Regions from separate parts of the Homo sapiens genome. Here regions 1, 2, 3 and 5 are each linked to region 4. Evidence: promoter capture Hi-C in human tissues and cell types (Jung and others, 2019). All regions are on one chromosome and are shown on one strand. Each heading gives the region's core, a stretch centred on a gene start or on the middle of the fragment in contact. The rest is flanking DNA. Distances are from core to core; before and after follow the strand shown. Region 1 overlaps NAV3 (neuron navigator 3). Region 2 overlaps SYT1 (synaptotagmin 1). Region 3 overlaps NAV3 (neuron navigator 3). Region 4 holds the start of SYT1 (synaptotagmin 1). Region 5 has its middle 100 kb from the start of LINC02424.

Region 1 (3,525 bases), core at 1,005-3,504, 670 kb after region 4:
AAGTATGAACTAAATTCAAAATGGCATTTCTCAGGTTCCACTAATATTTTTAATGTGTTAATTCTAATTCAGGTAGATGGGGTATATCTAAAAGTACAGCCATAGGACCTTGATAAAAGTATGCTTATTATTTATTTATAATCTGCATGCAATTGCTGTAATTTTAAACAAAGACAAAATTTAGCATCTCCTGAGTTTATTGGTTCTTTTACAGGTATTATTCCTGTCTAATAGCTTTTAATCTAAATATGATAACCAGTTTGCTGATTGACTGCTCTCACAGATGGGTAGGCCAGGAACATAATTAGGTTTCTTAAAATTATCCTAATCAGTAAGAACATTTCCATAATATTTGCATATTTACAATGACATTTTCAATTTGCAAATCGTGCTCAGGGTTATAAAACAATTCCATGATTTTGGTTTCTGGCAGCCAGGTAAATATGTGAATTGCTCACTCTAGATGCAACCTCTCTCTGTCTGTAACACCACTGCTGGAAATAAAAGTAGGAGATAAAACAACGGGCCAGGATTTTGAGGCATTTAGTAATTTTTATTTATGTTCAAATATAAAAATGTATTAAGGAAATAAAGTACTATTTGTTTTCTATTGAGCTAATCACATAAAATAAATCTTGCCTAAGTCAGAGAATGCAGAAAAAAATATGTTTAAAACTGTTGAATATTCTGGAGAATTCTATTTACTTCAAAAGAAAAAATAAAATTTATGTCACTAATTTAGCTACATTAAGTCATTCATTCGTTTATAAAATATGCACTGTCTATCTACTGCGTTCATAGCCTTAGACCAAGCCCTGGGTATACAAAAATAGTGAAGTCTGATTCCTGCTATCAATGGAGTTTAAGTAGGTTTAACATTTATTATGAACTGCATCAAGTACTTTTCCGGACATGAGGACTAAAAAGGGTAATCAGGCTGGTTTCCCCTGCAAGCTCTAAGAGTTGTCACATTAGGGACTGGAATTTAAATGTTACAAATGATATCAATATAATATCATAAATATATTATGAGATATGAGAAGTCAAGGGAAGAGATTTAGCCTAGCTGCTGGGTGTCAAGAATGGTTTTCTGGAGGAGGTAACACTGGAGCCTGAGTGGGGTGGTAGGCACACATGTAAATAATGATGAATTTACAAAATGCAAGGTAAAACATTCCATGAGAGAGGATAAAGGAGGCATGTGGCCTATAGGAGGGAAAGAGATTAATTCCAACTGGCACATCCTGCTGGCACCAGGGATTTAGAGATAAAACATAATTTCTGTCTTTCAGAAACTTAGAGTTGATAAGCAGAGAAGCTGGTGAGCAAGTGATTCACAATACAGTGTGCTAAGTGAAATGCACAAAACATTATAGGGAGACATAAGAGAGGCATCTAATCCAGACTTAAGGTTCACAGAAAAACAGAGTACAGTGGTTAAAAGGGAAAAAAAAGCAAATAATAATAATAATAATAAAAAGGATTGAAATCTAAAGAATAAAAAGTGAAACCTGAAAAGTGTAAGTGTATGATGTGTTTTGGGAAATAAGTGTTCTGTGGTTATAGAAAAATATAGTACATGCTACTGGTGGTGGCAATAAAAAAGAAAAAAAGACTTTGAATCCATGCAGAAGAAGTTGCATTTTATTATATAAAGAAGTGTGGAACATTGATATGTTTGTTTGCTTCTTTGTTTTCAGTAGAGGAAAGCAATTTATTTATCCAAGGAAACAGAAATGTGAAAGATAGAAGAATTAATTAGAAAAGGAAATAGCATTTAAGAAGCTTATTACCTTCCTGGAATAGAAGGTCAGGCATATACATATATAACAATAATTCACAGTCAAAATAATACACTACTTCAAAAAAGTATAGATCAAAGATTTTGTTTATAGTATGTAAAGATTGATTGTAGCGTCTGGAAAATGTACTGTGGTGGCAGTATGATTTGCTATTATTCCCTTATTTTAAAGATTGGGTAATACCTTGATGCTTAAACACAACAGAAGAGCTTTCCAAATAGAGAAGAATAACCAGTCAGAAACACGAAAATATGATATCCATGTAGGAAAAAAGCTAAGAATATGTGTTTTGTGAAAGGAAATGGTGGTAATGAAATTGTAAAGGAAACTGCAACCTTAAATGATTAGTAAGATCGCTGGACATCTCCTTTTGGCAGTGAAGAAACATTCTTCTGGTGACCTGAGTAAGTAGTCACAATGGTGATTTAACATGTGGTGAGCATATTGAAAGGAAGAAGCAAGACCAGCCAAGAGAATGTTGAAATTATTGAAGCCTAGAGATACTAAGGGACTGAACAAGGAACAACGTGATGTTTTTGATGTAGTACAGAAATCTATAAGAAAACATTGAAAAATTTGATCAGATTTTAATTATGAAAAGATATTCTATGTTCCATGAGGTGAATGAATATATCCCAAAAAAAGAGAGAAGGGAAATTTAAAGGAAATCGTGTATCAAGTAGTTAAAAAATAATTGTAGAAATCCAAGAAACAACAGAGGAGGATGTTAATCTGGGGTGGAGGGTGGTTTTGTTGGAAAGCAATGGAAGAGGATAAACTTATAATATGTGTTTGGGGCTGAAATTGTCAATTCTCAACAGGTATATTTAGTAGGTGAATAGAAACATATGTGTAGGATGATAGAAAGCTTACAAATTTGGGAGAATGGGCATGGCTGATAGTGTTTAATTGAAGTCAACCACACAAGTCAAGCCAAGTTGAAGCCACAAGAGTCATCCAAAGGAGAATAAAAGTGAGAGAGAACAGAATAGTTCATTATAAAGAAAAACAGTTTCATTTACTGGGAAGTGAAGGAAGAGCAGAGAGAAAAAAACTGAAAAGCAATTTACCAGGGAGCAGGAAACAAGGAGAAAATGATAACATGAATGTCAGAAAGAGAGAGAGAGAGTGGGGAGGCACAAAGGAATTGAGTTTTGTAATTAGCAGGTCACTGGGTCATTTTTGGACAATCAGAGCCTTTAGGTTCTAATTATAATGTGGCTTTCTTTCATCTTGAGAGGGTAGTGGATCCCCTGGGAATCTGATGGTAGGTATAAAGCAATGGATGTAGAAACAGGCAAACATAAATAAACTTTTTTCCTATAACTTAGAGGAGTTTTTCACAGATTCCCTTGAAATAACTTCATGATACCCACTCTAGCTTGATGAAAATGAAATCTTAGATTGAGGCACTGATGCACCGGCATTAAAAGTCTTTTTTCCAGATCTAGTCAGGTAGAAGGAAACAGGCATATCTACCAGATGGGAGTTGGCAATGAGATGAATCCCATACTCTGAAACTACAGGTGGAACACCACAGTTACATAAAAATGGTAGATCACTGCTTTCTCAGATGCTGACTCCAGACACACTAAAAAGGAATCTATCAGGTACAGTTTTCTGATCTTTTCCAGCCTAACATTCCAAATGGCTTCAGCTGACCATGTATTCTCTACTAAATCCACCTCTAGCCCTCTGGGCCTACTATATCGAATGTCACAAA
Region 2 (3,403 bases), core at 767-3,266, 520 kb before region 4:
CTATATCTTGAATAGCCATCTATACTATATAAACTTATTTTGCCATTGTACCATATTGAACAGCATGAAAATATTCATAGTTAGGGAGGAAGTGGAAATACAAGAATGTTTTGGTCAAGGATGAACCACATGTTCTATGGTGGTCCTGTAAGATTATAATGATGTGTTTTAAATGTACCTTTTCTATCTTTAGATACACAAATACTTACTTACCTTTGTGTTTCCACTGCTTACAATATTCAGTACAATAATATTCTCTAAAGGTTTGTAGCCTTGGAGCAATAGGCTATACCCTATAGCTTAGGTATGTAGCAGGCTACAACACCTAGGTTTGTGCAAATACACTCTATGAAGTTCACACAACAATGATGAAATTGCCTAACTGTGCATTTCTCAAAACATACCTGTATCCCACGTGACTGTATATGTGTCTGTTCCACAAAGCACTATAAGGCCTCTATTAGCATGTCATGCCAATAAATATTTCAACAGTTACGTTTAGGTGTGGATAAACTTCCTTCGAGCATTCATAGAAGACATGGCAAACAAGCCTAGATTTATTATCTACAGTTTCACACACGACACAGACTACTTGGGAGAAAAGTTTATGTTGTATGAGCAGTCAAGAAATGCCTGCCTTTTTACAATATTTGAGTTTGTTTAGTAATTCAAAGTGGGGACTGCACTATATTTTTATATTTCATCACAATCCAAGAATCTCTACTCAGCGTTTGGAGCACGTAACATTTGCCATCATTTAAAAAGTGAAAAACCTAGCTTTCTTCCAAATTCCCATAGGTGTAGCAGGACTAAGAGGTAAGCACTGAAACCACATCATTTAATAAGATGGATCATTTCAAGAAGGGCAGTACGTGTACACTATCGCATTTTTGTAAAAGCTTCATTTAGTTTTTCTTTTCTTTTTTTTAACTTCCTTTCCTCTCTGGACTCTCTGATTTTCTGTCTTTTTTACCCCTAGTATATATTCTTTATTATCTATTAGTAAATAACAAGGGGAAAAAATCATTGCCCCTTTTTCCTGGCAAACTCAATTAGGTTACGGGAGAAGGGAGAAGAGTGCATGTGTTTGTGTATTTTTGAATATAAATTCCTTGAAGTCAGGATACCTCCTAAACATTATCCAGAATTGTGTAGGAACTTGAATCTGACTTAGCTGGGGAAAATAGTCTTTCAGGGAATGAAGTATCATACAGAAAGCAGCACTCTCTTTCACACTAGGGATCAACTTTAGAGCATTATAGGCAAAGGCATCATATTTTCAAGAAATGCCTTCCACTTCAACCTGAGAAGTCTCTTACCATTTAGTCACTTCCCTAAAGCAACAGACTCGCACGACTGAGAATCACTGTGTCATTTTCATCTGTAGCGTTTCTTTAACCAGGGGTGGGTACCCTGACGACTGATTGAAAAACACGTTGACTAAAATGGTCTTAATAAGCATACCGCATGACCTTCCTCCCCCGTGGTCTCATCAGCAGGCAATAAACTAGGCTCATCATGCTCCATTCTCACGTAAAAACCTATCTGTCAGGGAAGTAATTACCTAGCCAGATAGACGCCCCTCTGAGGCAAGCCCAGAAATCATTATAATACTCTATAATTAGTGTTTATTATTTTATCTGTTCATGTCAGTAGAAGCACAAAAAAAGCACCCCTCAGCTGGACAATCCTATCCTAACAAGATGTAGAAAACATTAATGTAAAAGCTGCTCATTCTCTGCATTTTCTTTGCCATGGCAACTTAAAATCAGCTTGCTTCCACGCAATTTGTAGCTCAACCATGCTCCCTAACACTCACACAGCAGACCTGGAATTTCATCCAGGACTATCTAAATCTTTAGCCTGACAACAGGTGTAGGTATTATCTCGACAAAGACCTGAGTGATAAGCTCATTTTTCTCTACAGGTAAAAGTAGTACATTCAGGGCTTATTCTTGGCAGATGTTATTCTAACAGAAATTCAGAATTCAAATCCTTCAAACCCCCTGCTCTCCTGTGTCTAAGATGGGAAGTAAGTACACAGAGATGCCTCTTGCATTTCAATGAAGTGCTGTTAACTGGGCCTTGGCTTTTGTTGCTCTGTACTTTGTAACAGTGGTGGTCCTTTTATCTTTTTCAAGGGGATCTGATAACAATTATCTGATTCAACAGGAACTTGAGACAGTCTCAACTACAGAGTTTTACAAAGTTTAGGTGTACAGTTTTACCTTTGAAGAAAGAATGTGTTACTTTCAGGCAAGCAAGAGATGGATCTATAATCTTTCGAAAATGGAAATGGTTGTGTTTTAAAGTAGGAATCAGGGAATTCAGCATAATAATATAGTAGGCCATTCGTTGCCAATGTTTCAAGGAATAAAAACTACTAAATCCTAGGAGAAATTATGGTGGAGTAGCCAAAGGCATGGACTTCAGATTTCAGAGTCTCTAAGCCCTATCTGCAAATTGTTGATAATGACAGTATTACCTAGTTTTGTCGTAGGAATTAAATGAGGGAAAGATTGTCAAGTGTTTAGTATCACATATTGGTGCTAATTCTCTTTCCTGGGCTTGCACACTAGGACACAGGTTACACTCCTCTGTCTAAATTTGGAATCATACATATGGGGTTGCCATAGCTCAAGGAACCCCAGGAAACTCCTAGGGCTTCCAGGAAGGAAGAAGGCATGAATAGGTGTTTCTAGGAGGTGGAAGAATTGAGGGGAGGAGGACATTTTGCAAAGTCCACTTGGGGAATTGCAAGGGAAGCTTATTACAGTCCTTTTAAACAAGCCCTCTTCACTTTTAGGGAAGAACTTGTTTAGCTGGGCATGATGGCTCATGCCAGCAATCCCAGATACCTGGAAGGCTGAGGTGGAAGGATTGCTTGAGGCCAGGAGTTTGAGACCAGCCTGGGCAATATAGTGAGACCCCCATGTATTAAAAAAATTAGCAGAGCAGGGTGGTGTGTATCTGTAGTCCCGACTACTTGGGAGGCTGAGGCAAGAGGGGAGTTTCGAGGCTTCAGTGAGCTATGATCATGTAGCAGGCTACATCACCTAGGATGCAGCAGCCTGGGTGGCAGAGCAAAGTTCTGTCTCTAAAATAAATAAACAAAAAATTCTTCATCCCAGGCACAGCCAGATTTGCTGATTGTGAATAAGGTATAAATGGCAATGAATGTGCTTGAGGAACACACTCAAATTGCATCTTTGTCAGAGTCTCTCTAAACTCTGGGACTTGTTTTTCAGAGCATGCTAATTTGTTTCTGCAGTTAATATTTTCTCAAAATATCTAAATGACAGAAACTGCATTTTCTCTTATTTTTTGGTGGGGGTGGCAGTGGTGAAGAAATGTTGAAAGAAAAGCCAAGATTAGCTTTAAAATCTCTGGTTAATCTTCAAAA
Region 3 (3,493 bases), core at 736-3,235, 690 kb after region 4:
TTCATGGATGCTGAGCCACAGTCACCAGCATTATGGGGTAACTTGGGGGATGCCGGAAGGGATGAATCAGTAAGCTCTTCAATGTCAGAATGTGATGAAGGAGGCTTGGTGGACTTTTTCTTCCCAAAGGCTTGTTTGAAAGAACTTCTCAGCTGAAACAAGGACAGAAATTACCCTTCTTGTCTATTTGCACTTGGAGAGCTTTTGCTTTGGGGCGTTAGTTTGCAGATGCCATCCTAGCCACTGCCTGGGGTCAGTATGTACAAGCAGAGTATTAACAATTGCAGCACAGTATCTCTAAAAAAAAAATGATACCGTGTTTTGTGTGTTCATTTTATTCTTGTATTAATCCAGCGCAGCGCAAACATGGAAGGCTTTTAAATAGTGCAAGGTCAAGGGCATGGCTGTCAGAGCACTCATTTAAAACTAAGTACCTTGAAGGGATCTCCATTCCCAATGCTTCTCTCTTCAAGGCAATTTGTTTTAAATGGCCACTTTAGCGCTACAATCAAGTCATGTCCTGCTGACAGTACAAACTTAAAAAGCAAAATGAAATCAAATTCACCTAACACTTCATTAATTGTGATTTTTCTATTCAAATTTTCCAACCCCAGACTACTCAAAACCAGAATTGGTATCCCCTACAGCTCTATTCAGAAAGTGGTTTTACATCTCTTTAAAATTTGAGATTAAAATGAAAAGACACAAAGAAAAGACATACAAGGTAATCTGTTTTAAAAGGTATAAAAGCCTACTGCCAAAATGGATAGCATTCATGCCAAGGTAGGGTTTTTTTATAGATGCATGCCAAATTGTCCACGGTTTATATTCACCTCACTTCCTCTAGAGTTCACCTTGCAGAAACATGAAAGAGTGTGGAATTACAAATCAAGGGAATGAAGGCTGATCAGTATTTTAAAATATTACCTGTATAAACATTTTTTAAGATAAAAAGATATTTCTTTCATTATTTGTAGAAAGCACTCCAGTAAAATCCTCTGATAATTATGTCTGGATTTCATCAAGAGTTGTATTTACTCAAAATCTACATTTTTTTTTTGGTATTAAAAGAAATCATTGACTCCATTGTTTTTAAATTTTTCGCAGTAACAGTATCTTCCCCTGGGCTATTTAGCTATTGATCAATATCATAAATTATATCACTAGCAAACTTAAGGTACAGTTCTGTTAAAGTGCATTTCTATATTTCTGCTATATTCTCTTGGTTAAAAACATCAAGCAGACACTAATGTGGTTGATTTCTTTTAGGGTGAAACTATTCACACGGTAAGCCCTGTCGATTCCAAAGGTGGAATGAGAGTTTCATTGTTTATTCTTTCCCTTTATTAACTCCCATTCTCCTTTTCCTCCAAGACCACTATCACCATCATCATCACCATCATCATCATTTTTTCACTTTTCCTTCATCTCTATGCCCACAATAAACCCCTATTTTAAGCCATTTATTCACAGATGTTATCTTATTTTTCTTTAGTATAACTCTATAGTTATACTACATAGTTTGTATAGTTATACTATAGAAAAATTAGATAACATCTGTGAATAAATGATATTCACAAATAAATATAGTTGCTATTAACTGTCTTTTTATTGGTTAGAAAATTCAGGCCCCTCAAAAGGTCTAGATATAGTGGTGATTCAAACCCAAGTTTAGTCCCAACATTAAAATGTATGCTTTTCAGTACATGCCACTCCAATTTTGGTGATGAGTGCAGCATTTGAGGTCTCAGTAGCTTGAATGGGACCCTTTGTAAACTACTGCAGATCACTAAAGCCCCAAAGAAAAAGGCCTAACACATTATGCATTAATAAGCTTCTGAATTAGATGAAGGATGGTAACTTACCCAGTTTTTCTTTTTCTTCTTCTTGGAGTCGGCATCATTACCACTGCCAATACTGGAATGGCTTGTGGCACTGTTGATACTAGAAACACTTTCAGAGGAATGCTGTCTTCTGATGCGAAGATCTAGCAATAGAGGGAGAGTATCACATCGGCTCATGAAGAGTCTCGATCTGAACAAATAAGTCTTTTAGGTCTTTTGAGAGGCAGTTCTCTAATAAAGGTCAACAAGGCTTTGTACAGATAATTTCAATGCAGTTTTGACTTTAGAAGTTTAATAAAGTACAACCATATTTGTTTTAATTAACTGAGTTATCTACATTAAGATTTAATGAGAATCTCATATAAGTCCATAGCCCTGGCAGTTTAATGAGTTCTCAGTTTTGTCTAAAATTAAATGCTATGCTAGTGATTTCTACTGAATACCTGGATCAAGCAGCTCTTCCAAAATGATTTATTCTGAATGATTAATTTAAAAGAGTAAATGGAAACTCAGAATGAGAATTAATTGTGCTTTTTAATATTTGTGCTTCAAATACAGTTACTAGAGCCAAATGTATTAACTTTCCATTTCATAGAATCATACCATATTAGAGCCAAAACAAAACCTGAAGTCATGTAAGCACATAATCTCACAGATGAGGAAACTGAAGTGAAAAGAAGTTAAGTAACTTGGCCAAAGTCAAACAGCCAATGAAAGGCAGATCCTCCAAAGAAAGCCTAGGTAGACTGAGTTTGTGAGTTAAACAGAGGACATATTTAAGACAGTGCAATTCTTCCAATGTACCCCTACTGCCTGCCCATGACTTATTATAGAATAGTAATAGTAATACCAATAACAAATAATAATCAAACTAGGTTTTACAATATGCTTGATATGCCCCCGGAGTACCTAATTTTATTCTTAAAGCAAACTACTGAAATGAGTTTAATTACTAAATGTAACTTTCACATGGTCACATAGCTGAAAAATAGTGGAGCCAGTCTCAGCCTTAGGCTGTTTCTAATATCCATTGTGTTAAAAGCCATGTACGCAGCATATGGTATGGCCTTGCTTAACTTCTAAGAGCAGGCAGTGCTTCTTTAGTTAAGATATTTTGAAGAGAATAGCATTTGATATTTAATCATGTTAAAGGTATCTGTTTCTTTTATACAAGCAACTATAAGATTTATAGTTATTTAAAATAAAACAAACTGAAAATTTTCCTACCTAAAATGCACTAGTATTAAGTATTACTGAGACACTAAGAAAATTTACAAAATTGTGCTTCAAGTCACATTTGCTTTTAGTCCATTTCCGTTAATATACTTATTGGCATCAAGGCAGATTAGTCAAGCAAAAAAATCTCAGTGGAAGTTGTAAGATGTCAAAATTTACTATAAAGCTGACAGTTTCCAAAAAACTAATACCATAAAATCAAGCCTCTTCAATTGACTGATTTACTGAATAGTAAAAATGATCCATGGCAACAAAACTATAACTGGTTGCTTTCAAAACGTATAATAAATGAGTATGTATGGATTGATAGACATGTAATATATGTATTTACCTACATATATATGTGTGTGTGTATATGTGTATCCTCACCTTCATATACATATATATCAATAAGTCCCTTAATTTTTCTACTG
Region 4 (3,873 bases), core at 1,374-3,873:
TTTTAGAAGTATTTGAAAAACTACTCATATCCATATTTTTAGATGTTATTTCTATAATTAACATTTGTAAAGAGTCATGAAAATAAATGTCACAAACCAAGCCTAAATTTTCACATATTCCTAAGACAGTGGAGAAATGAGAAAACAAAATCTTAATTTTCTCACATGAAGGCAGCTGGCTTCCTTTTTGTACATCTTTTCATGTCTAAACTTGTTAATTCAGTTGTACATACATGTGAGGTAATTAAGTGATTGTCCCTTTGTCCTTGTAACCAAAAGGTGGCACCTCTAAAAACCAGAGTTAGCTTTCAACAGAGACACTATTTTTTTTTTTTTTTCATTTAAATGTCAAAGCCCTAGAAAGAAAATCGTTTTTCGTGACTTGGTAATTCTATTTAGGGAGAGATCATTGCCTCAAATGCAAAATGGTTTGGAAAATAGTACACATTACACTGATGGCAAATGAATTCAGCTCTTCTCTAAGTTGGTGTGTAAACTTATATATTAAACGTACGTAGTGAAAAAATACTCTCTGAGATACAAAATTAGTGTGGAAGGTCAGACACAGTTAAGATAGAAGATTCTCTTTTCTTATATCAAGTGGAGTTCTAGACAAAAAAAAGTAAGACTCTGCATTTCCCCTGATAAATAAAAAGAAGTGTTTTGTATACTAACATCTGTGGATTTCTCTGTGTTCAGGTAAGACCCACTTGGAATGCTTTCCTATTACATCAAACGAGGCATTTCTCTATACCTCCTTCCATCTGACAGTACTATCGCTTAGCTGTCCCTGAAGAATAATAAGAAAAGAAAGCTTATATCCCCAATGATGGAATTAGAGACTGCTGAAGCTGCTGTAAAGGCTCTGTCCAACAAGTACCATTTACTTGACCTATTATGCAGGCAGCCAGGGGCATGTTGGTGTTTTGATATATTTTTCTTTCTTTTAACAAGACGTTACAAAAATGTTTTCCCCTTCAGGATTTTTAAAATTTAGGGTATCTTTCTAGCATTACTTTCTAAACTTAGTTCCAGTACAGGAGGATTCTTGTCCAACTGAGCCTCCATGTGCCTTCTAAAGGGAGTGCTGAAATTGTATAAACATCATGTTTACATCCATTAAATATTGTCCTATTAAAAGAAAATAAAGCCAGGCATAAGTTTGGTATCCAGACAATAAAATGCAAATAGTACAAAGGTAGAATAAAGTGAAAATTCTACACAAATGTAGCTTCCATACAAAAGTTAAACAGTTGCTTTATTTCACGAAAGGGTTAATACTGGAGAAAGTGAATATCAACATGTACACAAAGCTAACTAGAAGATTAGCTTTCTCAAAGTAGAAATCCAAGCCTCCCTATAAAATTGTTGTCCCTTGCAAATGTTTTGAAACTTTACATTTTTTGATCCCCCAACAACAGGCCATACCAAGAAACCTCAGGAAAGTAATAATCTATTTTAATTGTTTTTTTTTTTTTGTTACTCAAGAAAGCTTTCAAAGTTCAGATATTAACACTGATGTGCAATACCAAATTGTTAGCCCCACAGGACAGATGGAAACAGGAAAAGTCAGATGGTTGGCACTCAAAAGCAAAAGCAATTAAGCAGTTGAAAGTGGGTTGGATTGTCGGTTTATTTTTGTTCCATTTGAACGAATCAAGTGAGAGACATAGACTCTTGCAAGGAGGAAATCAAGTCAAACTTGACGCTTCCTCTCTCTGACAGCCCAAGCTGGACTGGTTGTCTACTCCCCTTATTCAGTTTAATTGCTTTATGTGCTCTGATTTTCGCAGAGCTTGTATTCTATCTTGTTTACGTTCCCCCCCCCCCCCATATCCCTCTCCCCAACAGAAAGAAATCTTTCTCCTTTCTTCACTCCCCCTCTTTCCTCTAAGAAAGGCAATCCTCTCCAGGAGGAGAAAGAAACGCTGTGCGTGCTTAGGGTGGGAGGAGGGCGAGAGGGGAGGTGTGGGAGAGAAAGAGAGAAAAGATTGAGATTGGGGGTGGGGGACGGAGGAGAGAGAACAAGAGAAGGAAAGAGGAAGCAAGAAGATGGGGGATGCCCAACATCAACTCCAGGCTCTAAATCACGGGCGCTGTGCAAAGTGCTTTTCCAGGAGATGCACATGTAGTCTCATATTTCTCACAATAGGCCACCCGGGGATCCCTCCCTAGGTCTCAGACTCCCACCACTAAAACCCAAGTGTATCGAGAAGAAAATCTTTGGGATGGATTCGAGCAGATAGGCACCGCCGAGGTGGCCGCGCCGCCAGTCCCGCTTCCTTACCTGGAGGGCGGACCGGGAGGTGGTGCCGGGTCTCGGTCCCCAGTGCTCTCCCCGCGTGGACCGGCGCGAGGCACACGCGTACTCTCGCTGCCTCCGCTCTTGGAGGGGCAGCCTGCAACACAAAAGGGGTGTGTGGGTGTGGGTGTGTGGGAGGTTTTCCAGGGCCACCAGCTGGTCCCACGTGGTCGCCCCCACCCTACACACACCCCTTCGGGGCGCCAAGCCCCCCTCTCGGCTGAGCACCACCCTGGGGACTTGCCCGGGGTGCAGCCTCAAGTTGCCGCTGCTAACTGCTGCTGCCGCTGCCGCTGCTGCAGGAGGAGGTGGAAAGACACTGGGGGCAGTACTCGGTCTAGAGCATCCCCACACTGCAGCTTCTCCAGGAATCCCTCCAGTGAGGAGGCGGCCGCCCATCATCTCCGAGCCCCAGCATCCTGATTGGCTCCACCTCGGGTACGCTGCGCCAAGGAGCCAATCCCCGCGCACTAATAATAGGTGGATCCGTTCAGCCAACATCGCCCATCCCAGTTCTGTTAGTGTCTCTCCATCCCCACAGCGGACAGGGACCTGGGAAGCGGGGTGGAGGCGGGTTGGGGGAGGGGGTGAAGTAAGAGGGGAACAGATCCCAAGGAGACACAATCAAGGGCGTCTGATAAAACCTCTAGGTAGACTCAGGAATGCCCCACAAGCTGTTCAGCAAGCAGTATGCACAGGAGAAAGAGAGCATAATACAAAGCTTTTTTTTTTTTTTTTTTACTCTCAATCAAAACCTACCCTGATACTGAGCATGCCCAGACTGCAACAGCGACCTAGGAGTTTCGATGTGTGTGGGTTCGCCAGCTGTGGGTTTTTGAAAAGCTGGGACCGGGGACAGGAGAGGTAGAAGTTTGTCTTTGGCCATTTAACCCGGCGGAGTTGTGAAAGCTGGGTAGGGTGGGGATGTGAAAGGGTTCCGCACAAGTGTCCTCAAACTGAGCCGCGGGGAGGTGGCCCACCTGGCTGCCGGAGGCTCATCATGCTGTTCTTCTGGGGTTCCGGGTTGGAAGCGGGGGCGGGATAAGCTGAGCTTTGCTGGAAGCCTGGGGACTTCCCGCGAAGGGTGCGGTGGAGCCGAGATGCGGGAGAAGCAGCTCCGTCCCATAGGTGGGGCCGGGAGCGCGACTCCACCCATCAGCGGCGGCTGCCAGGCCGTGGAGAGTGCACTGGGAGTTTCCATTGCAGCGACCAATAAGTTTGTACACTTGGGTCAAGTGCAACATTGTTGGAGATGCTTTTTTATTTTTTCATTTTTATTTTTTGCCACCTCCCTCCCCCATCTCTCTCGACCCCTTGCCAGAGCAGTGACGACTAAAGCATAGATTCTCTCCCTGCTTCCTCTCTTCCCAGCTGAACCGTTCTGCTCGGAAGTAAGAAGCTTTTCTCTTGTGAGGGCGGTGGTGACCTGATTGTCTCTAAGCTCTCAGGCAATTTATAGCTTGGTAATACCGAAATACCGAACAGGAAGGCTCAGCGGGTGGGGGAAGGGACCGCGCGCCAGGCTAGGGGCGGGAGCGGAGCCCAGCTGGGAGAGGGGCCCGTCCATTATC
Region 5 (3,649 bases), core at 661-3,160, 610 kb after region 4:
AATCTAAAGAACAAGGAGAAAATAGTTAGACAAGTGCTGCTATCAGCATTAAATTCTTACAACTGTGTTTAAATCACTTGGTATAACTGCATCATTCTTCCATCAGTCTCTTTTGACTACTCATAAGTTTTTTTTTTTTTTACAGACCTAAAATATACGTGACTTCAAATCTGGATATTACATAAACATACACATGTCTCTGTTGTTAAAATGGATAATCTAATTGACTTAGTCTGGTCTTTGGAGGCTTTGGCTTCTATTAGGTGCCACTAATGGCCTAATCAACTTGAGGCAAGATTTGTTGGGGAGGTGGAGCAGGGAGTATCTTGAAGCAAATGTCTTTGGCTGTGGTCAGGGAGGATAAGCAAAAAGAAAATGTGAATTGTAGCAGGTGAACTGATTGGCATGTCTAGGATACAGGTGTTTTTGTGCACACACATATGCAGTCAATCATGGGCAGTATGCCCTGTCACTTCTCATTGGTCATGAAAAGTTGTACACACACTAATCCAGCTCCCTGTGTGGTTACTGGACCTGTAGCTGTATCCGAGAAATGGCCAGAGGCACCATTAGATTGTGGCTATAGAAATAAATATGACTCCCTTGGGAAAGATACTTATGACTTTAGTTTGACTAGCTCTGCTCTCTAACCCTCTATGACTTACTATTGCTGCATTGAAAATAATTATGTTGTTCTCGGGGTTCCAAGATGGCTGAATAGGAATAGCTCCAGTCTACAGCTCCCAGCGACACAGAAGACGCATGACTTCTACATTTCCAACTGAGGTACCAGGTCATCTCACTGGGGCTTGTTGGACAGTGGGTGCAGCCCACGTAGTGTGAGCCAAAGCAGGGCAGGGCATTGCCTTACCCGGGAAGCACAAAGGGTCAGGGAGTTCCTTTTCCTAGGCAAGGGAAGCTGTGACAGACGGTACCTGGAAAATCGGGACACTCCCACCCTAATACTGCACTTTCCCAGTGGTCTTAACAAACGGCACACCAGGAAATTATATCCTGTGCCTGGCTCAGAGGGGCCCGCACCCATGGAGCCTTGCTCACTGCTAGGACAGCAGTCCAAGATTGAACTGCAAGGCAGCAGTGAGGCTGGGGGAGGGGCGTCCATCATTGCTGAGGTTTGAGTGGGTAAACCAAGCGGCCACAAAGCTCGAACAGGGTGGAGCCCACCACAGCTCAAGGAGGCCTGCCTGCCTCTGTAGACTCCACCTCTGGGGGAAGGGCATAGCTGAACAAAAGGCAGCAGAAACTTTTGCAGACTTAAACATCCCTGTCTGAGAGCTCTGAAGAGAGCAGTGGTTCTCCCAGCACGGTGTTTGAGCTCTGAGAACAGAGACACTGCCTCCTTAAGTGGGTCTCTGACCCCTGAGTAGCCTAACTGGGAGAAACCTCCCAGTAAGGGCCAAATGACACCTCATAATCCAGGTGCCCGCCTGAGACGAAGCTTCCAGAGGAAGGATCAGGCAGCAACATTTGCTGTTCTGCAGCCTCCGCTGGTGATACCCAGGCAAACAGGGTCTGGAGTGGGCCTACAGCAAACTCCAACCCACCTGCAGCTGAGGGTCCTGACTGTTAGAAGGAAAACTAATAAACATAAAGGACATCCACACCAAAACCCCATCTCTAGGTCACCATCATCAAAGACCAAAAGGTAGATAAAACCACAAATATGGGGAGAAACGAGAGCAGAAAAGCTGAAAATTCCAAAAATCAGAGCTCCTCTTCTCCTACAAAGGAATGCAGCTCCTCGCCAGCAACAGAACAAAGCTGGATGGCGAATGACTTTGACAAGTTGACAGAAGTAGGCCTCAGAAGATCAGTAATAACAAACTTCTCTGAGCTAAAGGAGGATGTTTGAACCGATAGCAAAGAAGCTAAAAACCTTGAAAAAAGATTAGACAAATGGCTAACTAGAGTAAACATCATAGAGAAGACCTTAAATGACCTGATGGAGCTAAAAACTACGGCACAAGAACTACATGACACATGCACAAGCTTCAGTAGCCAATTTGATCAACTGGAAGAAAGGTTATCAGTGATTGAAGATCAAATGAATGAAATGAAGCAAGAAGAGAAGTTTAGGGAAAAAAGAATAAAAAACGAACAAAGCCTCCAAGAAATATGGGACTATGTGAAAAGACCAAATCTATGTCTGATTGGTGTACCTGAAAGTGACGGGGAGAATGGAACCAAGTTGGAAGACACTCTGCAGGATATTATCCAGGAGAACTTCCCCAACCTAGCAAGGCAGGCCAAAATTCAAATTAAGGAAATACAGAGAACGCCACAAACATATTCCTTGAGAAGAGCAGCTCCAAGACACATAATTGTCAGATTCACCAAAGTTGAAATGAAGGAAAAAATGTTAAGGGCAGCCAGAGAGAAAGGTCGGGTTACCCACAAAGGGAAGCCCATCAGACTAACAGCTGATCTCTCCTCAGAAACTCTACAAGCTAGAAGAGAGTGGGGGCCAATAGTCAACATTCTTAAAGAAAATAACTTTTTGGGAGGCTGAGGCAGGAGAATGTCGTGATCCCAGGAGGTGGAGCTGGCAGTGAGCCGAGATCACACCACTGCACTCTAGCCTGGGTGACAGAGCAAGACTCTGTCTCAAAAAAAAAAAAAAAAAAAAAATTTCAACCAAGAATTTCACATCCAACCAAAGTAAGCTTCATAAGTGAAGGAGAAATAAAATCCTTTACAGAAAAACAAATGCTGAGAGATTTTGTCACCACCAGGCCTGCCCTGAAAGAGCTCCTGAAGGAAGGACTAAACATGGAAAGGAACAACTGGTACCAGCCACTGCAAAAACATGCCAAATTGTAAAGACCATCGAGGCTAGGACGAAACTACACCAACTAACGAGCAAAATAACCAGCTAACATCATAATGACAGGATCAAATTCACACATAACAATATTAACCTTAAATGTAAAAGGGCTAAATGCTCCAATTAAAAGACACAGACTGGCAAATTGGATAAAGAGTCAAGACCCATCAGTGTGCTGTATTCAGGAAACCCATCTCACATGCAGAGACACACATAGGATCAAAATAAAGGGATGGAGGAAGATCTACCAAGCAAATGGAAAACAAAAAAAGGCAGGGGTTGCAATCCTAGTCTCTGATAAAACAGACTTTAAACCAACAAAGATCAAAAGAGACAAAGAAGGCCATTACATAATGGTAAAGGGATCAATTCAACAAGAAGAGCTAACTATCCTAAATATATATGCACCCAATACAGGAGCACCCAGATTCATAAAGCAAGTCCTGAGTGACCTACAAAGAGACTTAGACTCCCACACATTAATAATGGGAGACTTTAACACCCCACTGTCAACATTAGACAGATCGATGAGACAGAAAGTCAACAAGGATATCCGGGAATTGAACTCAGCTCTGTACCAAGCAGACCCAATAAACATCTACAGAACTCTCCACCCCAAATCAACAGAAGATACATTCTTTTCAGCACCACACCTGTTCCAAAATTGACCACATAGTTGGAAGTAAAGCACTCCTCAGCAAATGTAAAAGAACAGAAATTATAACAAACTGTCTCTCAGACCACAGTGCAATCAAACTAGAACTCAGGACTAAGAAACTCTCTCAGAACCGCTCAACTACATGG

Evidence for each region. Contacts are between HindIII fragments. The study calls those that stand out against the background at their distance.
Region 1: a contact is called between a fragment that was not itself captured here and the fragment with the promoter of SYT1 in region 4, in 3 of the 25 tissues and cell types used here (IMR-90 fibroblasts, dorsolateral prefrontal cortex and hippocampus).
Region 2: a fragment that was not itself captured here is called in contact with the fragment with the promoter of SYT1 in region 4 in 1 of the 25 tissues and cell types used here (dorsolateral prefrontal cortex).
Region 3: a fragment that was not itself captured here is called in contact with the fragment with the promoter of SYT1 in region 4 in 1 of the 25 tissues and cell types used here (dorsolateral prefrontal cortex).
Region 5: a fragment that was not itself captured here is called in contact with the fragment with the promoter of SYT1 in region 4 in 2 of the 25 tissues and cell types used here (dorsolateral prefrontal cortex and mesendoderm cells).

The regions. Positions count from the first base shown.
Region 1 is chr12:78,193,307-78,196,831 of GRCh38, reverse strand. The region is part of intron 34 of NAV3 (neuron navigator 3); the gene reads right to left. Among named protein-coding and RNA genes, the nearest start is that of LINC02424, 160 kb to the left of the region's middle. The HindIII fragment of the contact is 5,529 bases long and covers 1-3,525 here.
Region 2 is chr12:79,380,105-79,383,507 of GRCh38, reverse strand. All of the region lies in intron 9 of SYT1 (synaptotagmin 1), which reads right to left. Among named protein-coding and RNA genes, the nearest start is that of MIR1252, 37 kb to the left of the region's middle. RefSeq lists an enhancer at 1,817-2,415. The HindIII fragment of the contact is 3,813 bases long and covers 110-3,403 here.
Region 3 is chr12:78,173,800-78,177,292 of GRCh38, reverse strand. NAV3 (neuron navigator 3) reads right to left here. Exons shown (of 40, transcript NM_001024383.2): 25 at 1,866-1,987; 26 at 834-854; 27 at 1-152. Among named protein-coding and RNA genes, the nearest start is that of LINC02424, 180 kb to the left of the region's middle. The HindIII fragment of the contact is 3,925 bases long and covers 23-3,493 here.
Region 4 is chr12:78,863,524-78,867,396 of GRCh38, reverse strand. SYT1 (synaptotagmin 1) reads right to left here and starts at 2,623. Exons shown (of 11, transcript NM_005639.3): 1 at 2,288-2,623. RefSeq lists a silencer at 3,780-3,839. The HindIII fragment of the contact is 3,235 bases long and covers 2,259-3,873 here.
Region 5 is chr12:78,255,317-78,258,965 of GRCh38, reverse strand. No RefSeq gene overlaps it. Among named protein-coding and RNA genes, the nearest start is that of LINC02424, 100 kb to the left of the region's middle. The HindIII fragment of the contact is 3,437 bases long and covers 192-3,628 here.